Regions from separate parts of the Homo sapiens genome. Here regions 1, 2, 4 and 5 are each linked to region 3. Evidence: promoter capture Hi-C in human tissues and cell types (Jung and others, 2019). All regions are on one chromosome and are shown on one strand. The core of a region is centred on a gene start or on the middle of the fragment in contact, and the rest is flanking DNA. Distances in the headings are between cores, read along the strand shown.

Region 1 (3,557 bases), core at 265-2,764, 270 kb after region 3:
GGGCAACAAGAGCAAAACTCTGCCCCCCTCAAAAAAAAAAAAAAAAAGGTTCCCAGGAAGGGATAACACCCTTCTCACCACTCTACCTTTATTCCTTGCCCACTTTGTCTCAGATAAAAGCAAACAGTTGAAAAACATTCTACCCCAAAACCTCGAATGAAACTTTGGCACTTACATCATTAGGCCACCAATCCTATTGTAATTTCTCTCCTGAAAAGGAACAGCAAAGAAACCAGAGAGAAAAGATAGTTTTGTTTTTTTTTTTTTTTTTGAGACGGAGTCTCACTCTGTCGCCCAGGCTGGAGTGCAGTGGTGCGATCTTGGCTCACTGCAAGCTCCGCCTCCTGGGTTCACGCCATTCTCCTGCCTCAGCCTCCCCAGTAGCTGGAACTACAGGCGCCCACCACTACGCTCGGCTAATTTTTTTTTTTGTATTTTTAGTAGAGATGGCATTTCATCACATTAGCCAGGATGGTCTCGATCTCCTGACCTCGTGATCCGCCTGCCTCGGCCCCCCAAAATGCTGGGATTACAGGCGTGAGCCACTGCGCCTGGCCAGAAAAGACAGTTTTATCCTTCTATGTGTAGAACAAATTCTGGCTTATAAAAGCAAACTATTACTCAAAGTCTTGGTCTCCCCCAGGGTAAAAAGCATTCATCATGTGACAAGCTACAAAAACAAGAAGGGGCCAGGCGTGGTGGCTCACCCCTGTAATCCCAGCACTTTGGGAGGCCGAGGCGGGTGGATCACGAGGTCAAGAGATCGAGACCATCCTGGCCAACACGGTGAAACCCCATCTCTACTAAAAATACAAAAATTAGCTGGGCATGGTGGCATGCGCCTGTAGTCCCAGTTACTCGGGAGGCTGAGGCAGGAGAATCTCTTGAACCCGGGAGGCAGAGGTTGCAGTGAGCCGAGATTGTGGCCACTGCACCCCAGCCTAGCGAAAGAGAGCGAGTCCGTCTCAGGGAAAAAAAGAAAAAAACAAGAAGGGTTGTGATAGGAGCTTTGATGTAAAAGCTGGGTAGCAAATTAGGGAACAGGAAAAAAAAAAAAGTTAATAAATGTTACCAGTACTAAAATTTGTTTTAAAGATAAAATGTTTGAATATTTGTATGCAGCAAGCATGTTGTTTCCAAAAATATCCTTAAGGGAGCATAGAAACACACCCGCTTCCAATCCCTCAATGTGGCCACTCCAGACATCTGCCTAACACCATGCCTCTTGATGGCCACCTCCCCTACCTCTTTACAGGACAGCTACATAGGGCCTATGTGGCTCACCCCTCTTGTTCCCCGACCCCACAAGTACTAGATGAATATGCTACAGTGACCATGTCTCAATCACAGCGTGACCCCCACAAAGCTTGTGCCTGCTCCCTTTAAACCCATCAATTAGAACTATTGGCTTCGGTAACATAATAGCCCTAGGAAACCCACTTGGGAAACTCCCTGGACTCCCAATAAAGGTTTTGGCCCAGGATTCTCTCTCTCTCCTCTCTGGGATCAGTAAGTAATAAAAATACTTCTGCTATTTCATGTGTCTTGCTGTGCTGCTCTGTGTCTCACCTGACCAATGCATTCAAACCTATTTTCCTGGGCAGGGCTAGAATCTATAGCCACTCTCAAGAGAGAGACCTTAGGACCAAATTAGAATTGACATTTGCAAAAGAGCCAGGAATACCAGGAGGTGGGGAATCACTGGGGGTCATCTTAGAGGCTACCTCCCCCAAGCACTATTAAAAGAATAAACTAGGCTGGGCGTGGTGGCTCACACCTGTAATCCCAGCACTTTGGGAGGCCAAGACGGGTGGATCACCTGAGGTCACGAGTTCAAGTCCAGCCTGGCTAACACGGCAAAACCCCATCTCTACTAACAATACAAAAATTAGCCGGGCATGGTGGCGCAAGCCTGTAATCCTGGCTACTTGGGAGGCTGAGGCAGGAGAATCACTTGAACCCAGGAGATGGAAGTTGCAGTGAGCCGATATCACGCCACTGCACTCTAGCCTGGGCAACAAGAGCGAAACTCTGTCTCCAAAAAACAAGAATCAACTTTAGTGTAAGATGTTAAAATAGCTGTATGACAAATGTTAAATCAAGATTTTAAAAAAACGGTGAAGCAAATTCAGTCCCATTGCTCATTAATAATAATTTTTTAGAAACAAAAAAATTTTGTACCAGTAACGCATTTTTTAAAGTTTTAAATATTTACAATGCAATTTATTTCATCTTCATTTTCATTTTATGAATGCTTTATAATATACGGTATTATACAGTATATATTATATAATATAAAGTATCTTAATAGCACATACTAATGTGCGTACATCTGATATACATATAAACATACATACGATACACACATATTTGTTTGCTCACAAAATTCTAATAAGGGTACATGACCTTTTTTAAAATGAAGACTGTTACTCTATATAATGGGAACCACCAGAGAGTTTTGAGCTACTGAACCCCAAACTTAGATTTGCACTTTAGAATAAAGGCTCTTTATTACCAAATTTACCAAATTACCAAGTTTACCAAATTACCAAAGTTACCAAAGCATTATTTGGTAGTGCCTAGCACAGAGAAAGCCCTCAATGGCAGCAACAGGTAGGGAATATGTGACGAAACCTGGAGTCTAGCTAAGATGGGTTATTTAAGCACGGCCCATCATCTGTAAATCTAGTAATGGCCTCCAGTTTTCCCAATGCACTTCAGGAGAGGTGGAAGTGCTTTTGTTGAAATGGGTCTCAACTTCTAGCCAATGGAGAAAAAGCTTTAAATGTAGTCATCATCAGTACATCTCAGAAGTATGTGGGTAAGGGCATTGACCTGGATTAATCACCGAAAAGCTACGTGTGCATCTCACGTGACTCACTGCTGAGCATAATCCCCAAAATGGCATCCACCACAGTTAGGGCACACAAGTGGCAAAAAGTACCAGTACTCCTCACAGACAGCCATCCTTTGAGTTCAGCCAAAACCAGGGGCAACCAGAGAACATACATGACTCGGTGGGCTGACGACTGAGCCTCGCACCACAACAAAGGACTAGGTCTGTGGAGCAAAAGGTCACAAGGCTAGGTTCCCTTCTCTTCCCAACTGCTCTGTAAAGGGCACCCAGGCCCTGTCTGAGAAGGTCTGGGCCAGGGACACCACAGCCACCATGGCACTGATCTGTTAAGGGGCAGGAAGCTGTGGCACTCACCAATCCCAACCAGCTCACTTTACCCCTTTTTCCAGGCCCTCATCCAATTTCCTTTTCAGTACGTTGTTCTTATCTTGCTCCTGTTTTTCTCTACACTAGGTTGGAAATGCTTGAGGACAGGTATGGTCTCACCCCTTCTGTACAACCCAAAGGTCTTGGTCAAAATCAGTCACTCTGGCATGGTAACTGGTATACCAGTGCGGTAACTGTTACTCCGGCATGGTAACTGGTATACCAGTGTGGTAACTGTTACTCCAGCATGGTAACTGGTATTATCAGTGCAGTAACTGTTACTCCGGCATGGTAACTGGTATACCAGTGCTGTAACTGTTACTCTGGCATGGTA
Region 2 (3,837 bases), core at 532-3,031, 430 kb after region 3:
ATGAAGTTTTCACTGCTAGTAGTAAACACCACTGCTTCAACAATCCACATTAGGTCAGCATTTACCAGAGGGTCTCCCTCTGGAGCAGGTTGTCCAAGAATATGAGTTCAACCACTGGCTCAAGAGAAGCGGAATGTCTTCTCAATGGTTCAAAATTCACTTTATGTTCAACTACAGGCCTTCTGCAAACTGAGGATCTGAGCCCTTTAGGGCAGTGACTATAATTCTTCCCGGACATAGAAGGCCAACAAGGTGACTGTCACACATCAGCACAGAGCGAAAGCCATTACATATTAGTAGCCAGTGAGAAACAAGGTTCAGGACCCTGTACTGTAGAGGAGAGCACTGTAACACGCCAGCAAGCAGAGTGGTGGAAGGGGAGCTGGGTGGCATGTTCATCCATTACAGCCATGGGTGGATCTGAAGTCTAAGTAAGATGGATACTCACTACTGTACTGGTTGGCAGCTAGGCAGTAAAGTAACAATTCATCAGATAAAATTTTAGGTGGAACCACAGGTTTGGAAAGTTCTGGGATCCAATATAATGTCTATAGGAGCATCAATATATAACATGAAAAGTCAGTTATCAGGGAAACAGGTAGGGTTCCCTCCCCTGGAATACTGGAAAGAGATGTAAAGACCATATCTTCAAGCGCCCGAGTGAAGACCTTCTTCTAATACAATGACTCCTGTGGCTTTCTGTTAGGAATCAAGCAGTAATTAGTTATAGCCCAACTTTTAAAGTATCAGTGCGCTTACAATTACATAAGAAGAGAGGAGGACATAAGACACTTAACCGAGGAAGCTGAAGTGTTAGGGCTGACTTGTAAGTAAGTTTTAGATACAAATGAAGAACACGTTCTGTTCTAAGTACCATGCCAGAAGCCAGTAAGTATTTTTGGCAGGTCCCATATTCACTCTCTGGGGAAGCCTGGAGCCTTCTAAAACCCAGTTAATTTAACTTTGATTAAATGCACGACATTGTCAGACAGTAAAGTTTCAATGTCGGAATGAGGCCATATCATTCTCCCCAGTAGAGGCAAGCTTGCCATGAGAAATTTCTACATCTTGGGGACCACCCCCACACATGTAACACCTCCCTCTCTCACCTCTCCAAAGAGCACCCTCACATATAAGATGCCCTCGAGTTCCTTCTACTCAACAGAAAGTCTAAAGACGATGTTCCCCAAGTTTTAACAAGCTACTGGGCGTCAGACAGCTGCTTTATGTCTACACCCAGATCCTCCCCGTGGGCTTCCCGGACCCCTCCCCTCGCGAGGTTCAGAACCCCGCGCTAGCTACACTGTGGGTCCAGGCTGGCCGCTGGGGCACGATGGGGCCAGACGCTCTAAGCAAACCCTTTCCCAGCGACTTCAGGCACCTGGGAGACCCGCCCGACAGGCCGGGCCTGGGCCTCGCAGTGGCGCCTTATCCCCCCGGCTCCTCCCGGCTGTAGGAACTCCACGGAACGGCCCGGCCCGGCTGAGACGTCGGTTCAGGCTGCCTCCCGCCCCCCAGGCCCGAACCCCTCTTCCCCGCCCGCCAGGCCCCGCCTCGGGATCTCGTGCTCCTGCCAGCCGGCTGCGCCCGTACCTGCCGGACCCGGTGCAGGGCATCCACGAAGCCCTCGGCCTTCATCCCCACAGGAGCGCTCTGCCCCTGCACCAGCTCCGCCATTACCGCCCCCGCCGCCGTCGCCGCCGCCGCCGACGCCGCCGACGCCGCCGCTCGGCTCCCCGGTCCGGCCTCCCGCTCCGCTTGGGGACCCGTAGCCGGAAAAGGAAAGTCGCCCTACTTCCGGCGGAAGGGAAAGCCGGGACGCTCGCAGCTGGAGGAGTCGCGTCTGCGGGGCGGGGTCAGGGCACGTGACCTTCGACCGATCGGAAGTGGGGGCGGGACGGCAGCGCCGGGGTGGGCTCAGATCGCCAGGCAGCCGTGGGTCTCCAGGGTCCGGTCGCGACCCTTCCCTTCCCGGGCGGGATTTGGTCCAGGACCGTCGATGGCGTCTTGACAGGTCCCCGAGGCTTGGATGTGGTCCCGAGGTGTCCGCTGTCGGCCGTTTGGAATCTCAGAGGGACTGACGTGGCTCTCCCAAGACGGCACCCCGAACAGTCGTGGTTCATCAAAAGCCTGGTCCTGGGTAGCCCCTCCCTGAAATGGCTGTTGGTTGGGAATTTGGGGGCTGAGCGCTTTGAAAGGGCATTGGGACAGCATCACAGAATGTCAGTGTCCCACATTTGCGAGGAGTCCCGGGCCCCAGTTCTTACACTGCAGTTTGCATGAGGATGGGCCACCGCCACTTCCGCCTGGGGTTGTCTGGTGATGCCCCCAGGAGAGACGCGCCCACTGAAAAGCCAGCGTGGTGTCCTCTTACACGGTCCTTAACAAACTCTGGGACTCTGGGGGTGCAGGAAATACCACAGGACCGTCATTACTCCCATACCGGCTGAGTCACAACTGTATTGCAGGAGGCTTCTTGGAACGCCTATGTAACTTTAATGGAAGTGACCAGGTACAGATCTTCTACAGCAAGGAAGGAATCTTAGTGCTAGAATTCAGTTGAGCCTTTGAGTTGGCTCTTCTTATAAGTGAGCAAACAAGTAACAAGGTTTAGGGGGCGCCCATTTTTGTGTTAGCACGATTGCCCTCGTGTTTAATATTTCCCAAGCCCTATTATGATAAGGAGTTGGACTTAATGAAGAACCATGTTGTCAAACATCTTATGCCCATCTTGAAGTTGTGAAGGAGGATGAGCACCAAGAAAAGGAAATAAATAAAATCCAATACGGGCCGGGTGCGGTAGCTCACGCCTGTAATCTTAGCAGTTTGGGAGGCCAAGGCAGGCAGAACTCTTGAGCCCAGAAATTCAAGACCAGCCTAGGCAGCATAGTGAGACCCCGTCTCTACAAAAAATATAATTAGCTGGGCGTGGTGGCAAACACCTGTAGTCCCAGCTACTTGGGAGGCTGGAGTGGGAGGATCACCTGAGCCCTGGAGGTCAAGGCTGCAGTGAGCTATGATCACGCCACTGCAGTACAGCGTGGGTGACAGAGCAAGACCCTTTCTTGGGGAAAAAAGTCCCATATAACTTTCCTTGATGACCCCACCCTCACCCCTCACTGTGTCATTATGCCAAGAGAGCTTTGGGCATTCTAAAGAAGTATGAGGAATACTTGACCAATAACCAAAGTATAGTTATTTATTTGTTAATGACTTCTTTCCTAGACTGTGAGTTACTTTAGAGCAGAGACTTATTTTTCCCTGTATCCCTAGGGTGTGGCACATAGTAGGTGCTTAGTAAACTTATTTTGCATTCAATAATGCCAAGTAGAATAATTCATAGATTATGGCAAAATAAAAGAATTTGGCAAAATTGCAAGATTGAAGATTGCTTTCAGAAAAAATGTTCCAACCCCTGTTCAAAAGTACATAGCTTGCTGTGTTGTTGAAGTGCCAGCACGAGGAGGACCATGCCAACACATCCATTTATTGCCCATTCTGGGTGTGTTGAGCGTTTTAAGTTTGCTATGCTTGTAAAAATCAAGGAATGGCAATGGTATCAACTTTCATGAACACAGTCGTTCAGCTGAACCAAGTATCAGTGATAACTTCTGTTTTGAATTTTAGAAATATATCTCTGAGGTTAGAATGTTGATTCATGCATATTCCAGCTGGCTTTCCCTATGAGTATAAATAGGGAAAACAAGGCTATTGGCCCAAATGTAAGTTGTATTCCAAGGTTTGGTCCAAAGACCAGAGAATCCCTAAGTAGGAAGACAGTTTTGTTTTCCCCTCTTTTACTGGTTAACTTTGAGCAGGTCACTTATATTTGGGGGC
Region 3 (3,810 bases), core at 488-2,987:
ACAGAGGACATGGGAATCGGGCTGAACACGGAGGGAGGAGAGAGCATTCCAGCTCCCTGCAGTGGGGGCAGGGGCTGAGAACCGGGGCTGGGTCCAGACTCCAGATTCTGATTCCTGGAGATCTAAGGGCTTCTGCACCTCGGCAAGTCATGAGCAGGGCAGAGAGGCCATGCCACCGGGCGCAGCTGCCCAGCAGCACGAAGAAACTTAGTCCTCCTCCCCAGAGGGTTAAACTTTGCCTGTGCAGTGATGAACATCACAGCTTCTATCTTCCAGAACCCACCCGAGGACTGCAGGCAGCTTCAGGGGTCCACTGAATACCTGAAGTTGACCAGAAGACCCAAGATCAGGAGCCCCTGCCCTAGAGGGTGACCAATTCAGTCCTTGGTGTGTCACCTCCCCAACAGTTCTGGTCTAGGATGGAAAACCATTACAGGGGATTATAATTGCAACCTAGAACCAAAGCTCAGCAAGTGACTCCCTGCCTCTCCCGCCCCACGGGGCACCCCTCAGTCTATCCTTCTGGCTATCTAGGGGTACAGGTCCTGTTTTTTTTTCTTCTTTTTTTCATTCTTTCTTTTTATTAAGAGATAAGGTCTCACTCTGTAGCCCAGGCTGTAGCACAGTGGCACTATCATATTTCATGCAGCCTCAACCTCTCAGTCTTAAGTGATCCTCCTGCCTCAGCCTCTTGAGTAGCTGGGACCATAGGTGTGCACCACCACGCCCAGCTTTTTTTTTTTTTTTTTTTTTTTTTTGAGACGGAGTTAGCTCTGTTGCCCAGGCTGGAGAACGGTGGTGCGACCTCGGCTCACGGCAACCTCCACCTCCCGGGTTCAAGCGATTCTCCTGCCCCAGCCTCCTGAGTAGCTGGAACTACAGGCACCTACCACCACGCCCGGCCAAATTTTCTATTTTTAGTAGAGACGGGTTTTCACCATGTTGGCCAGGCTGGTCTCGAACTCCTGACCTCAGGTGATCCGCCCGCCTCGGCCTCCCAAAGTGCTGGGATTACAGACGTCAGCCACCGCGCCCGGCCTATTTTTCTTTATTTTTTGTAAAGATGGGATCTCACTACGTTGCCCAGGCTGATCTTGAACTCCTGGGCTCAAGCGACCCTCCCATCTCGGCCTCCCAAAGTGCTGGGATTTCAGGAGTGAGCCACCGCACCCAGCCTAATTCCTATTTCTGAGCCCCTCCATCCAACACCATATCTGGGTCCTGCAGCCCAACCTGGGCGCACAGCAGCTCAGGCCTCAGCCTCAGACCCCCAGTGGAGTGGGGACACGGGGTGCGGTGGCGGTGCCCCCAGCCCGCGCTTACCTAGGCGGAGGGTGATGTTGACCGAGGTGGGGTACTGCACGCCGAAGGCCATGGACGGGCTCTGCCACCAGGTGCTCTCGTCCTGGCTGTGGAAGTCGGTGAGGTAGGAGGCGTTGTGGTGGCGCTGGGGGTCGGCGGCGTCGCAGCGCTGGCAATGAGCCCCCGCGCCCGCGGCGCCCACGTGGGGACAGAAGTCCTCGGGCGGGCTGCCGCACGTGTGCGAGGCCTGGGCGAGCCGCCCAAACGCCGCGTTCTCGAACACCGGCAGGCAGCGCTGCGGGCGCCCTGCGCCGTCATAGCACGCGCCCATGCCCGCGCCGGCCGCCCGCGGTGCCAGCAGCGCCAGCCCCAGCAGAAGCGCAGCCGCCGCCATGGTCAAGGGCACCGACGCCGCGCGCTCTGCCGGCCCCGCTCGGCTAGGGTGGGCGCGGACCGCGCGCTGGCCGCCAGGACCCGCCTTCCCCTGCGGGGCGGGGAGGCTGGAGGGAGGGGCGGGCGGCGGCGGCCCCACCCCACTAAAAATACCAGGGACCGCGCCGTCCCCGGGCGCCCACTCCCACCTGCTGGACGTGCCCGGCAGTGCGCGGCTCGGGAGTCTGCCCCAGAGGCGACCCGGGCCTCTTTGAGCCTCAGTTTCCTCGTCTGTGGAGTGGGGTCGGTAAAGATGCAGGCTCATTCTCGCCATTGGGAGGCTTCAATGGCTGCTCATTAAACAGAAACTGTTCAGCAGTGCCTTGGAGTCCTGAGATAAAAGGGGACAAGAGGATCTATCTCTAACTGATCGCTACCGTTTGCGCATCTCCTCCTAGCAATAAAGTGTGCCCTGGACAGGGTTGTGAGATGGCTCCGCATAGCTCCTGTCGCCCTTAACCCTGAAAAGCACTCCTGCTGCCGGCTGCGCTCTGTCCCCACAGCAAAGAGATTCTAACCTGACATTTGTGACAAGGGTACCTGGTCTTATCACAAATGTCACCTCAGAGAGGGCTTCCTTGTCTTCTGCCCCAACCCCCATAAATGCCCCCTTTACTCCCCATTTATTAACATTAGCAAATCGAGGGAGAGAAGTCATTCGATAAAATTTAGCAGCCAGGTCGTGCGCGGTGGCTCACGCCTGTAATCCTAGCACTTTGGGAGGTGGAGGCGGAAGGATAACTTGAGGCCAGGAGTTCGAGACCAACCTGGGCAAAATAGTGAGACCCTATCTCTACAAAAAAATACAAAAATTAGCCCGGCGTCATGGCACAAGCCTGTAGTCCCAGCTACCTGGGAGGCTGAGGTGGAAGGATCCCTTGAGCCCGGGAGGTTAGGCTGCAGTGGGCTGTGATCATGCCATTGCACTCCAGCCTGGCCAACAGAGTCAGACCCTGTCTCGAAAAAAAAAAAAAAAAAAAGGCAGCCATTCCCAGACGAACTCTAAGGAAAATAGAAATAAATTTCCTGGCCTGGCGCGGTGGCTCTCGCCTATAATCCCAGCATTTTGGGAAGTTGAGGAAGGCAGATCACCTGAGGTCAGGAGTTCGAGACCAGCCTGGCCAACATAGTGAAACCCCGTCTCTACTAAAAACACAAAAATTAGCTGGGTGTGGCGGTGCGTGCCTGTAATCCCAGCTACTCAGGAGGCTGAGGCAGGAGAATTGTTTGAACCCGGGGGGCAGAAGTTGCAGTGAACTGAGATCATGCCATTGCACTCCAGCCTGGGCAACAAGAGAGAAACTCCATCAAAAAAAAAAAAAAGAAAGAAAAGAAAGAAAGAAAATTTTTGGAAGCAAGATGAACTGTAGTGGGCTGATTCACTACCAGTTATTTACACATGATTAAAACAATACGGTTGTGGAAAGGACTACAGAATAGACCCATGGAATAAGTTAGAGATTTCAGAACTATATCTAAGTAGAGTTAGTATATGATATCACCACTGGTACCTAAGGTTATTTTGGAAGTTCTAGCTAATACAATAAGACAAAAAACTTAAAAGATATAAATATTTATATCTTCTACTTACCTGAACATACATCTAGAAAATCTAAAAGATTCTACTAAGACTATTAAAATTAATAAGAGCTCCGTAAGATGGCTGACTACAGGATAGAGTACGAAAACCAATGCCAGCAATAGGCATTTTCTGGCTGGGTGCGGTGGCTCACGCCTGTAATCCCAGCACTTTGGGAGGCTGAGGCAGGCAGATCACCTGAGGTCATGAGTTCGAGACCAGCCTGGGCAATATGGTGAAACCCCATCTCCACTAAAAATACAAAAATTAGCCAGGCATTGTGGCACACCTGTAATCCCAGCTACTTGGAAGGCTGAGGCACAAGAATCGCTTGAATTCAGGAGACAGAGGTTGCAGTGAGCCGAGGTCACGCAAATGCACTCCAGCCTATGCAATAGAGCAAGACCCTGTTTTTTAAAAAACAAAACAAAAACAAAACAAAACAAACAAAAAACTGATGCCAGCAATGATGTAGGAAATGGTAGAACACCTAATAA
Region 4 (3,792 bases), core at 1,229-3,728, 400 kb after region 3:
ACTGGACAATCACCAGGTCAGGAAAGAAATCCTCACCACAGACTCAGCCCCTGAATAATGTTGGGGCTGAGACATTCCTGAGGGAGGTATGTTGGCCACATAGGGCAGTGGGGAGGAAAAGAAACACACCAAAGGAGAATGTCAACGACAGAGTACCTGTGAGCTTGGTTAGCTGTTCCTATTTATGGGTCAAGCTCAGCTTCCCTGATTGCTATCAGAATTCCCCTCTTAGTGGGTAAAGAATCTACTGAAGCCAGAAGAACTAAAATGTCTTGAAATGATGAGAACACAGAGGAGAGGTGCTCAGCATTCCTCAGCTGGGGGAATGAGGCCGCACCGTGGGTTCTGGTCCACTGCGTTGTTTGGTAAAGGATGTCAAAGGGCCGATGATCTTCAGAAATTTCTGTCTCAGCCAGAAAAGCCACAGAAACAAAGGGCAGTGCTACCATAAAGAACTTCCTGAGATTCACAAGAATATTCAGAGGGCTCCTGTTCAAAAGCCATTTGAAATTTTGTGCTCATCACAAAAATGGCAATTCCTTTTTGTTGGCAAAGTATGTGTTACAGGTGCCACGCACATGACACCATTCCTGCCAGCCACGGTGGAGGCACTCATAATGACCAGAGATGAAAATGTTCACACTATCATCCCACAGATAGATGGGCTGCTGAGAGCCGCATCACTGAGAGGAAATCAGGTTCAAGTCCAGAGTCAACTCTGAGCTGGCAGATGCTTAGGAAGGATAAATCATCTCCCTCCTCCATGCAAATGCTGGAGTCCACCCAAGGCTGAAACATGTGATTGCAGTTTCATTCCCTTCGGAACATTCCCATTTGCTGCCTAAAAATGAAAACCAGCAGTTAGATCAGGGGCGCTGGGTACTCATATGGCCAACTTCTATGTCCAACTCCAGGAACAGGAACCTCTCCTCAGTCTTCGCAATGAGGAGGGGTCACACTAAGGAGGCAGATGGGAACACCTATCATATTCAATTGAATGGAACTACACTCATTTTCCTGTAAAAAAGGAAAAATGCTGGGTAAAATCAGTCCTGTTTCCACTAATGGTGTGTGCTGGTTGACAATGCATCTTCTTGCTTCTAAAGGTCCCGTTGGAGCAATTCCAGCATATACAGGTGTAGTTCTCGTTTCCCTTGTGCACTATATAATACGAACTGCCTGGGCTGTGAGTCATCCTACGATATCATAAATTCTTTCTGAAGAGTAATACTCTGCCAATTTTAATAATAATCTTAAAAAAAAAAAAAAAGGAGGTCAGGTCAGGTGCTGTCACTCATGCCTGTAATCCCAGCACTTTGGGAGGCCAAGGCAGGCAGATAACTTGAGGCCAGGAGTTCGAGACCTGCCTGGCCAACATGGCAAAACCCTGTCTCTAGTAAAAAAAAAAAAAATACACAAATTAGCTGGGTGTGGTGGTGCACATCTGTAATCCCAGCTACTCGGGAGGCTGATGCACAATGAACCGGGGAGGTGGAAGTTGCAGGGAGCTGGGATCGTGTCATTGCACTCCAGCCTGGGTGACAGAGCAGAACAATCTTAAAAATCAATCAATCAAACAAACAATAACACAAAAAAAGGTGATCAGACACATTTTTCCCTATTAGTGAAGAAAAAAAGATTTCATTTTTTTTTTCTCCTCCAAAAGAAACAAAACTGCACTGGGAAATACATGCAACTTTGCAATACACATCAGCTTTTTTTTTTTCCTGAGACAGAGTCTCGCTCTTCTTGCCCAGGCTGGAGTGCAAAGGCGTGATCTCGGCTTACCACAACCTCTGCCTCCTGGGTTCAAGCGATTCTCCTACCTCAGCTTCCCGAGTAGCTGGGATTACAGGCATGCGCCACTACGCCCGGCTAATTTTGTATTTTTAGTAGAGACGGGGTTTCTCCATGTTGGTCAGGCTGGTCTCGAACTCCCGACCTCAGGTGATCCGCCCACTTTAGCCTCCCAAAGTGCTGGGATTACAGGCGTGAGCCACCGCGCCCGGCCACATCAGCTTTAATAGTTATACCCCCACTCCCACCCCAGCACAAGGAACAAAAATGCCAATTCCTCCTTCACGACAGCACAGCCAGCACGGGCTGGCACCCACACGGAACCACTGGCCAGAGGCAGGTGAGTGAGTCTGTTGGGGGGGGGTGGGGAGAGAGGAATACCAGTTTTTATAACTGTAAAAACAAATAACCCAAATCTTCCTTTTTAGATTTTGAAAACAATCCCCCCTCCTCTGCCTCTTCTTTGGATTTGCAGTCTCCTCTGACTGACCAATGGCTTTCCACACCCCAGCTCAGGTCAGTAACACACACTTAGCGGTGAGGATTCAGGGCGTTTTTAGAAAGCTTTTCCCCCAGGGACACTACAAAGGCTTCCTGTGTTCTAGGCAGCAACTCTTGCTCCAGGGCCACAAAACACTGACATGCTGAGTTCAGCTGAAAGTCCTTTGGCAAGCATAATTTATTAATTTTGCAAATTATTTTTTAAAAAGTGAAAGTAAATTCAAGTTTATCTCAATAATGTCACTCTTTTTTGTTGTTGTTGTTGTTTGAGACAGAGTCTCGCTCTGTCTCCCAGGCTGGAGTGCAGCGGCGCGATCTCGGCTCACTGCAACCTCCGCCTCCCGGGTTCGTGCGATTCTCCTGCTTCAGCCTACCAAGTAGCCAGGATTACAGGTGTGTGCCGCCATGCCTGGCTAATTTTTGTACTTTTAGTAGAGATGGGGTTTTACCATGTTGGCCAAGCTGGTCTCAAACTCCTGACATCAGGTGATCCGCCTGCCTTGGCCTCCCAAAGTGCTGGGATTACAGGTGTGAGCCACCGTGCCCAGCCAATCACATCACTCTTACTTGTAGTCTACTGTAAGCTTCTGTGAGTGGAAAGACCACCACCCCCAGCCACACTAGGTGCTTTCCTGGGCACCTCACCTGCGTGAACCCACTTGGTCCTACAAGAACCCACCTTTGAGGCAGCTACTGTCACTGCCATTCCCATCTTACTGAAGAGGAAGGTGCGATCACACTGCACCCAAGCCCTCAGAGTGGCATGCAGGCGAGGGGCCTGTGCCCATGCAAACTCTGTACCCCTTCATCTTCCCCTGTCCTTTAATTTTGTGGGTTTCAACACTTATCACTGTTTAATTTTGTGCTATTAACTCTCTTGATCATTCTTCATCTCACAAGTCAGCGCCTTCCAGGTGCTGAGCACTGTGACAGGACCTGAGGATACAACAGTCAACAAAGCCACCTTTGCCCTCAGGGAGCTTACAGTCTAGCAGGGAAGGCAGAAGGCAACAGATGAGGGGGCCTACCCTAGCCTCCAGGGACGTGTTGGGCCCTGCACCTTCTCCTCAAGAGCCTAAGAGGAAAAAGAATTCTATGATAGTATATTCATAGCCCTAAGCTTTACTTTCATTTACGCCAGTGTCATGAAATCAATATAGGGGGTCACAACCAGCTTTATTAATAAAAATGAAATAGAAAACAGAATGTACCATATATAATAAGGGTAATGTATTTCATAAAACTTTCATTTCAGTCACATATGTGTTTTAATATGTCTGTACTAACTAGTTCTGATGGAAACAGTTTTTCTCACATTGGGAGTGGTATTTCTTTCTTTTTTTTTTTTTTTGTTTGAGACAGAGTCTTGCTCTGTCGCCAGGCTGGAGTGCAGTGGCACGATCTCGGCTCACTGCAATCTCCACCTCCTGGGTTCAAGTGATTCCCCTGCCTCAGCCTCCCGAGTAGCTGGGACTAAAGGCGCGCACCACCATG
Region 5 (4,052 bases), core at 257-2,756, 340 kb after region 3:
GGGCTGGCAGGTGTTGGAGGTGCCAAAGAAGCACCGGCAGCAGCTGGCCAGGCTCTGCGCTCGCTGTGTGACCCCGGGCGCGCCCGAGTCCCTCTCTGCTCCCAGGCCCTGGGGTGCCAGGGAGGGCGGCGCCCGGGCTCAGACAAACCCCGATGTCATCTCTCTGGGCGGGGAGGAGCCGCGGCGGCCCCCAGCTCCCCGAGGGTTCCCCTGTCGGGCATCTGCGGCAGGGCTGGAAGCGGCGAGGCGCACAAGGGCGGCCTCCATGTCTTACAAGGTTCCCCTCTAAGCTACCTGGGAAAATACCCGGCGAGCGGGCCGGCTGAAAGGGGGGGGTTAAACGGTGTCCATTGCGGCGCGGCGGGCAATTTGTCACGCTGTTAAAGTGATCGCATTCATTCGGCTCCATTCGAAAGAAATTGCTAATTCTAAATTCATTAGCCCTGGAAGAATGCTGTAGCAGTAAATTGTAGCTCAATGCGGAGGGGACTTGTTTAAAAGGGGCCGAGGAATTCCCCTTACAAAAAAGGGGGATTAGATGGTTGACATAGCGTGAATGGAAGTGGAATTAGTCTTCACGGTAAATTAAGAGAGGAACAGAAATCGTAAAGGGGGAAAAGAGGGCGACGCGCAGAGATGCCAGAGCCAGGGAAAGATATTGTTTGCGGGTTGATGAATGAGGAATAAGAACTTGAGACATCTTAAAGAAAAGAAACTTTTCTCGCTCTCTCTTTCTCTCCCTCGCTCTCCCCGCGGCTTTTTCTCCCCGCCCGCCCTCCCTCCACCCCCTCCCCAGCCCCGGCTGCCTTTTAAAGTTCTTGGTTTAAGTGGGAACTTTCGTGGGTCAAGCCCAAGTTAACTAAATGAATTTAAAACCCCTTCTTTTTGAGTCAACTGCTATTACACGCCTAGTAAGGCTGTAAATGCCGGGAACCCGCCAGCTCAAGCGCAGGAGGGGAAGGGAGGGGCCGGCGGGGGCGTCGGGGCCGAGCGACGGGGTCGCCGGGGTCGGTCCTTGAGCCGGGTGGGCTGCGGAGCTGCTTGGTGGCTCGCGTCCTGGTTTGGCCCATGGGGAAACTGAGGTGCACCGAGCGCCGGGAGAGCCCAGGTTGGCGCGAGTAGCAGCGAGGCCGGGTATCCCAGCCGCGTCTCGCGCATCGCCAGGACGGGAATGGGGGTCGCCGGGAGGAGGGATTGCGCCGGGCTCCGACGGCTGGACTCACCGCCGGAGAAGGACTGCGCCAGCACCTCGGCGGTGAAGGCTGTCTTGGGGCTGGCGTGGTGGCTCTTGTCCTCGAAGAGCTGCTCCCCGAGCACGTTGCGCCAGCGGCCGTACAGGAAGCTGTGCAGGATGTCGGAGGTGATAACCTCGGCCAGCGCCAGTCCCGGCGCCTTCAGCCCGGTCTTGAGCACCAGGGCCTCAGCCGGGAGCACGGAGCCCATCATGGGCGGCCCGGAGCTCCCCGGCGCCGGGGGACGGCCGGGCCGACGGGGGAGGTGGGCGGGCGAGAGGGGAGCCCAAGGGGCGAGAGGAGAGCGCTGCGATGGAGAAGGAACCAGAGCAGGGGGAGGACGGAGAGGAGGAGGACGCAGGAGGGAGCGGGAGGTGAGGGGGCGACTGGGAGGAAAGCGAACGAGGGGGAGAGGGGAAGAGAGATGGTGAAATCTGTAGAGATGGCAAAGGCGGCGCGGAGGGTGGAGAGACGCGGGTGGAGGCGGAGGCGGGTGCGGGGGGTGCAGGGTGGGTGAGAGGCGGGTGGTTGCAGGGAAGCGGCAGCAAGGGGCTCAGGCGCGCGCTAGCCTCTCGCACACTCGGCCGGGGCCGTCTTCCCCTTGGCAAAATCTCAGCGCCTTTATAGGAGCCGCAGTGACCCTCCTAATTGGTTATTAATGACCCCCTGACGTCGGAGGACAGACTTGTTGTACCCGGCTGGGCTCGAGGAGCCTTCGTCGCGAGAGCGCGAGGGGCGGGGGCGCGCGGACCGCTCCAAACAGTACCCCTCCACTCCTCTCTCCCCTTCCTGGTCCTTCCTCCCCCCTCCTGTTTTTCCTTCTCTCCCCGTGGGAAGCGCAGGGCAGGGAGGGAGGCTCAGCCGGCTCTGAGGAGAGGAGGGGACGGAGAAGGGGAGGGGGTGCGGCGAGGCTCTCTAGGACTCCAGGGACCAGGCTAGACAAGAGGGGACGCCTGGCTTCGGGCCCCGCGCTCCCCTCAGGCCTGATCTATGTTCACCGGCCTGGCCCAGCCCGGCGTTCACCTTTACTTTGCTGCCCCGGCTGGCCGGCCCAGCCCTGCACCGCTCTCCCTCCCCGGCCAGAGCCCGCGTCCTCTTCCCTCTCCGGCCCTGCACTCCCCGGGCCGCCACAGTCGCCCCGAGCTCGCGCGCAGCCCTAGTTGCCACGCGGATCCCCTGCTCAGACTGCGCTGCTGAAGCCGGCGCTTCGCTTCATACGGGCCGCGCCAACTCGGTCGCTGTGCACGGTCGGGTGCGAAACTCCTCCGCGGGCTCACGGGGCTGCCGAGGCGGGGCCGCAGCGGCCGTCGGGGCTGGGGCTGGTCCCGGCCTGAGACAGCTTCATGGAAGGCCAGGCTCCCGGCCCTTGCGGGGCCAGGTCGGGGGTCGAGATGGGCGGACAGGAATCGCCCTGGCAGCCTGTCTCTGGGAAAAGAATTTCCTACGGGATATAGGGGGATTGAAAGGGGTCCCGAGACCCTTCCTAGGTGGGAGCAGGCGTGCCTGAGAGCGAAGTCCCTCAGAAACTGCAGGCAGCTCCGCGAGAGGCCTCAGTGCGGGTTCGGCTTGCGGCCCGGCTTTCCGGCTCCTTGCTGAGCTGCAACCTCGGGAAGCCGGTGGCGTTGCGGCGCCCCTTCCTTCTTGCCTCCTAGTTCTTTCTTTCTCCTCTGCCTCTCTCTTCTTTCCCTTCCTCTCCTCTATTCCTCCTGCCCATCATCCCAGGAGCAGACTTGCTTTGCGGCGGTTTCGAGGCACCTCGGAGCCCAGCGATCCCCTCTCCCGAAGCAGGTAGCTGCTGAGCCCAGCGGAAGGCCCCGCTTCCTGCAGGCTTCGCGGCTCCCCAGTGTCAGCCTCAAGCCTCGGACCCCAGGCCCTGACATGCTGGGTGAGGGAGCTCACCCCACCTGCCGCACTTCTGGCTCCCATCACCAGCCTACAATTTCAGATGCCGCTAACAGAGGTGCCTGGACCCTCTCGGCGTGGGTCAGGCTCACGGATTAGTCTCCGCTGGACTGTGTGGACTCCCTAGACCTTCTCCTCAGCGCGGAGGACTTGGGTGGAAGAACAGCGAGCTGACCTCCCATGAGCGAGACCCTGTCCAAACGCCTGTTGGCATAGACGCCCCTCCACCACCCGGACGCGCCTTGGCTAAGAGGGTCTCACACCTGGCGTCCAGACTCCAGACCCCTGGTCCCCAGTTCCTGCCAGTAGTCTCCGGCATCCCCCGTCCCCGTTGGGACGCAAAGGGAGGAAGGCGGCGGTAGCTGGCCTTCAGACCCTGCGTCCGGGTCCGCCCGAGGCTGGAGCCCAAGGAAGGGCACACCTGGCAGAAGGCAGGACCGTTGGGCAGGGCGCCAGCAGAGGGCAGCGCTGCTGAGGAGGGAGGTGGGTTAGGGTCGCCGAACCCTCCACTCATTTTTCGACGCAGCTTGTGGGTCGCATCGGCTCCCTGGCCAGAGCTCGAGTCTGAGGGGGCGTATGGAGTCCGATGGCTCCTGCAGGGGAGCCTCACCGGGGCCTACTTCTTGGCTTCTGGGAAGACCTAGGTGGAGAGGACAAAGTGCTAGGAGCGAGGGAGACGACGTCGGGGAGCGCTGCCAGGAGCCAAGCGCTGCGGCAGCTCCCAAGCCCCGAAAGCGACCTCAGTTCCTCCAGGACACCAAAGGGGGATAAGGACTGCTGTGTGTCCTGTGGACTGCCCCTTTCCTCTCTGGGCCTCGGTGTCCCTGTCTGTGCAATGGTTTGAGTTGGACTTTGTGAACTGAGGTTTCTTTGCTTGGTCTCTCTTTGGGTAAGATCACTTTACCCCACGACAACCCC

What was found. The method cuts DNA at HindIII sites, captures the fragments that hold promoters and counts their contacts. A contact is called where the count stands out against the background at its distance.
Region 1: a contact is called between a fragment that was not itself captured here and the fragment with the promoter of LAMC3 in region 3, in 5 of the 25 tissues and cell types used here (adrenal gland, aorta, dorsolateral prefrontal cortex and 2 more).
Region 2: a contact is called between the fragment with the promoter of FUBP3 here and the fragment with the promoter of LAMC3 in region 3, in 1 of the 25 tissues and cell types used here (lymphoblastoid cells).
Region 4: a fragment that was not itself captured here is called in contact with the fragment with the promoter of LAMC3 in region 3 in 2 of the 25 tissues and cell types used here (adrenal gland and dorsolateral prefrontal cortex).
Region 5: the fragment with the promoter of PRDM12 here is called in contact with the fragment with the promoter of LAMC3 in region 3 in 1 of the 25 tissues and cell types used here (pancreas).

What each region holds. Positions count from the first base shown.
Region 1 is chr9:130,741,571-130,745,127 of GRCh38, reverse strand. It overlaps a transcript of ABL1 not described here. Among named protein-coding and RNA genes, the nearest start is that of EXOSC2, 50 kb to the right of the region's middle. The HindIII fragment of the contact is 5,419 bases long and covers 1-3,557 here.
Region 2 is chr9:130,577,521-130,581,357 of GRCh38, reverse strand. It overlaps FUBP3 (far upstream element binding protein 3), which reads right to left and starts at 1,781. Exons shown (of 19, transcript NM_003934.2): 1 at 1,594-1,781. The coding sequence starts at 1,677. It overlaps LOC100272217 (a long non-coding RNA gene), which reads left to right and starts at 1,864. Exons shown (of 1, transcript NR_027440.1): 1 at 1,864-3,837. LOC124902286 (a long non-coding RNA gene) reads right to left here and starts at 1,518. Exons shown (of 2, transcript XR_007061818.1): 1 at 1,110-1,518; 2 at 1-699. RefSeq lists a silencer at 1,464-1,833. The HindIII fragment of the contact is 10,079 bases long and covers 330-3,837 here.
Region 3 is chr9:131,007,101-131,010,910 of GRCh38, reverse strand. It overlaps LAMC3 (laminin subunit gamma 3), which reads right to left and starts at 1,737. Exons shown (of 28, transcript NM_006059.4): 1 at 1,324-1,737. The coding sequence starts at 1,696. The HindIII fragment of the contact is 10,117 bases long and covers 1-3,810 here.
Region 4 is chr9:130,604,758-130,608,549 of GRCh38, reverse strand. The region is part of intron 2 of FUBP3 (far upstream element binding protein 3); the gene reads right to left. Among named protein-coding and RNA genes, the nearest start is that of MIR6856, 20 kb to the left of the region's middle. The HindIII fragment of the contact is 5,498 bases long and covers 1-3,792 here.
Region 5 is chr9:130,662,048-130,666,099 of GRCh38, reverse strand. It overlaps PRDM12 (PR/SET domain 12), which reads right to left and starts at 1,506. Exons shown (of 5, transcript NM_021619.3): 1 at 1,224-1,506. The coding sequence starts at 1,446. RefSeq lists enhancers at 259-932, 2,223-3,064. The HindIII fragment of the contact is 18,845 bases long and covers 1-4,052 here.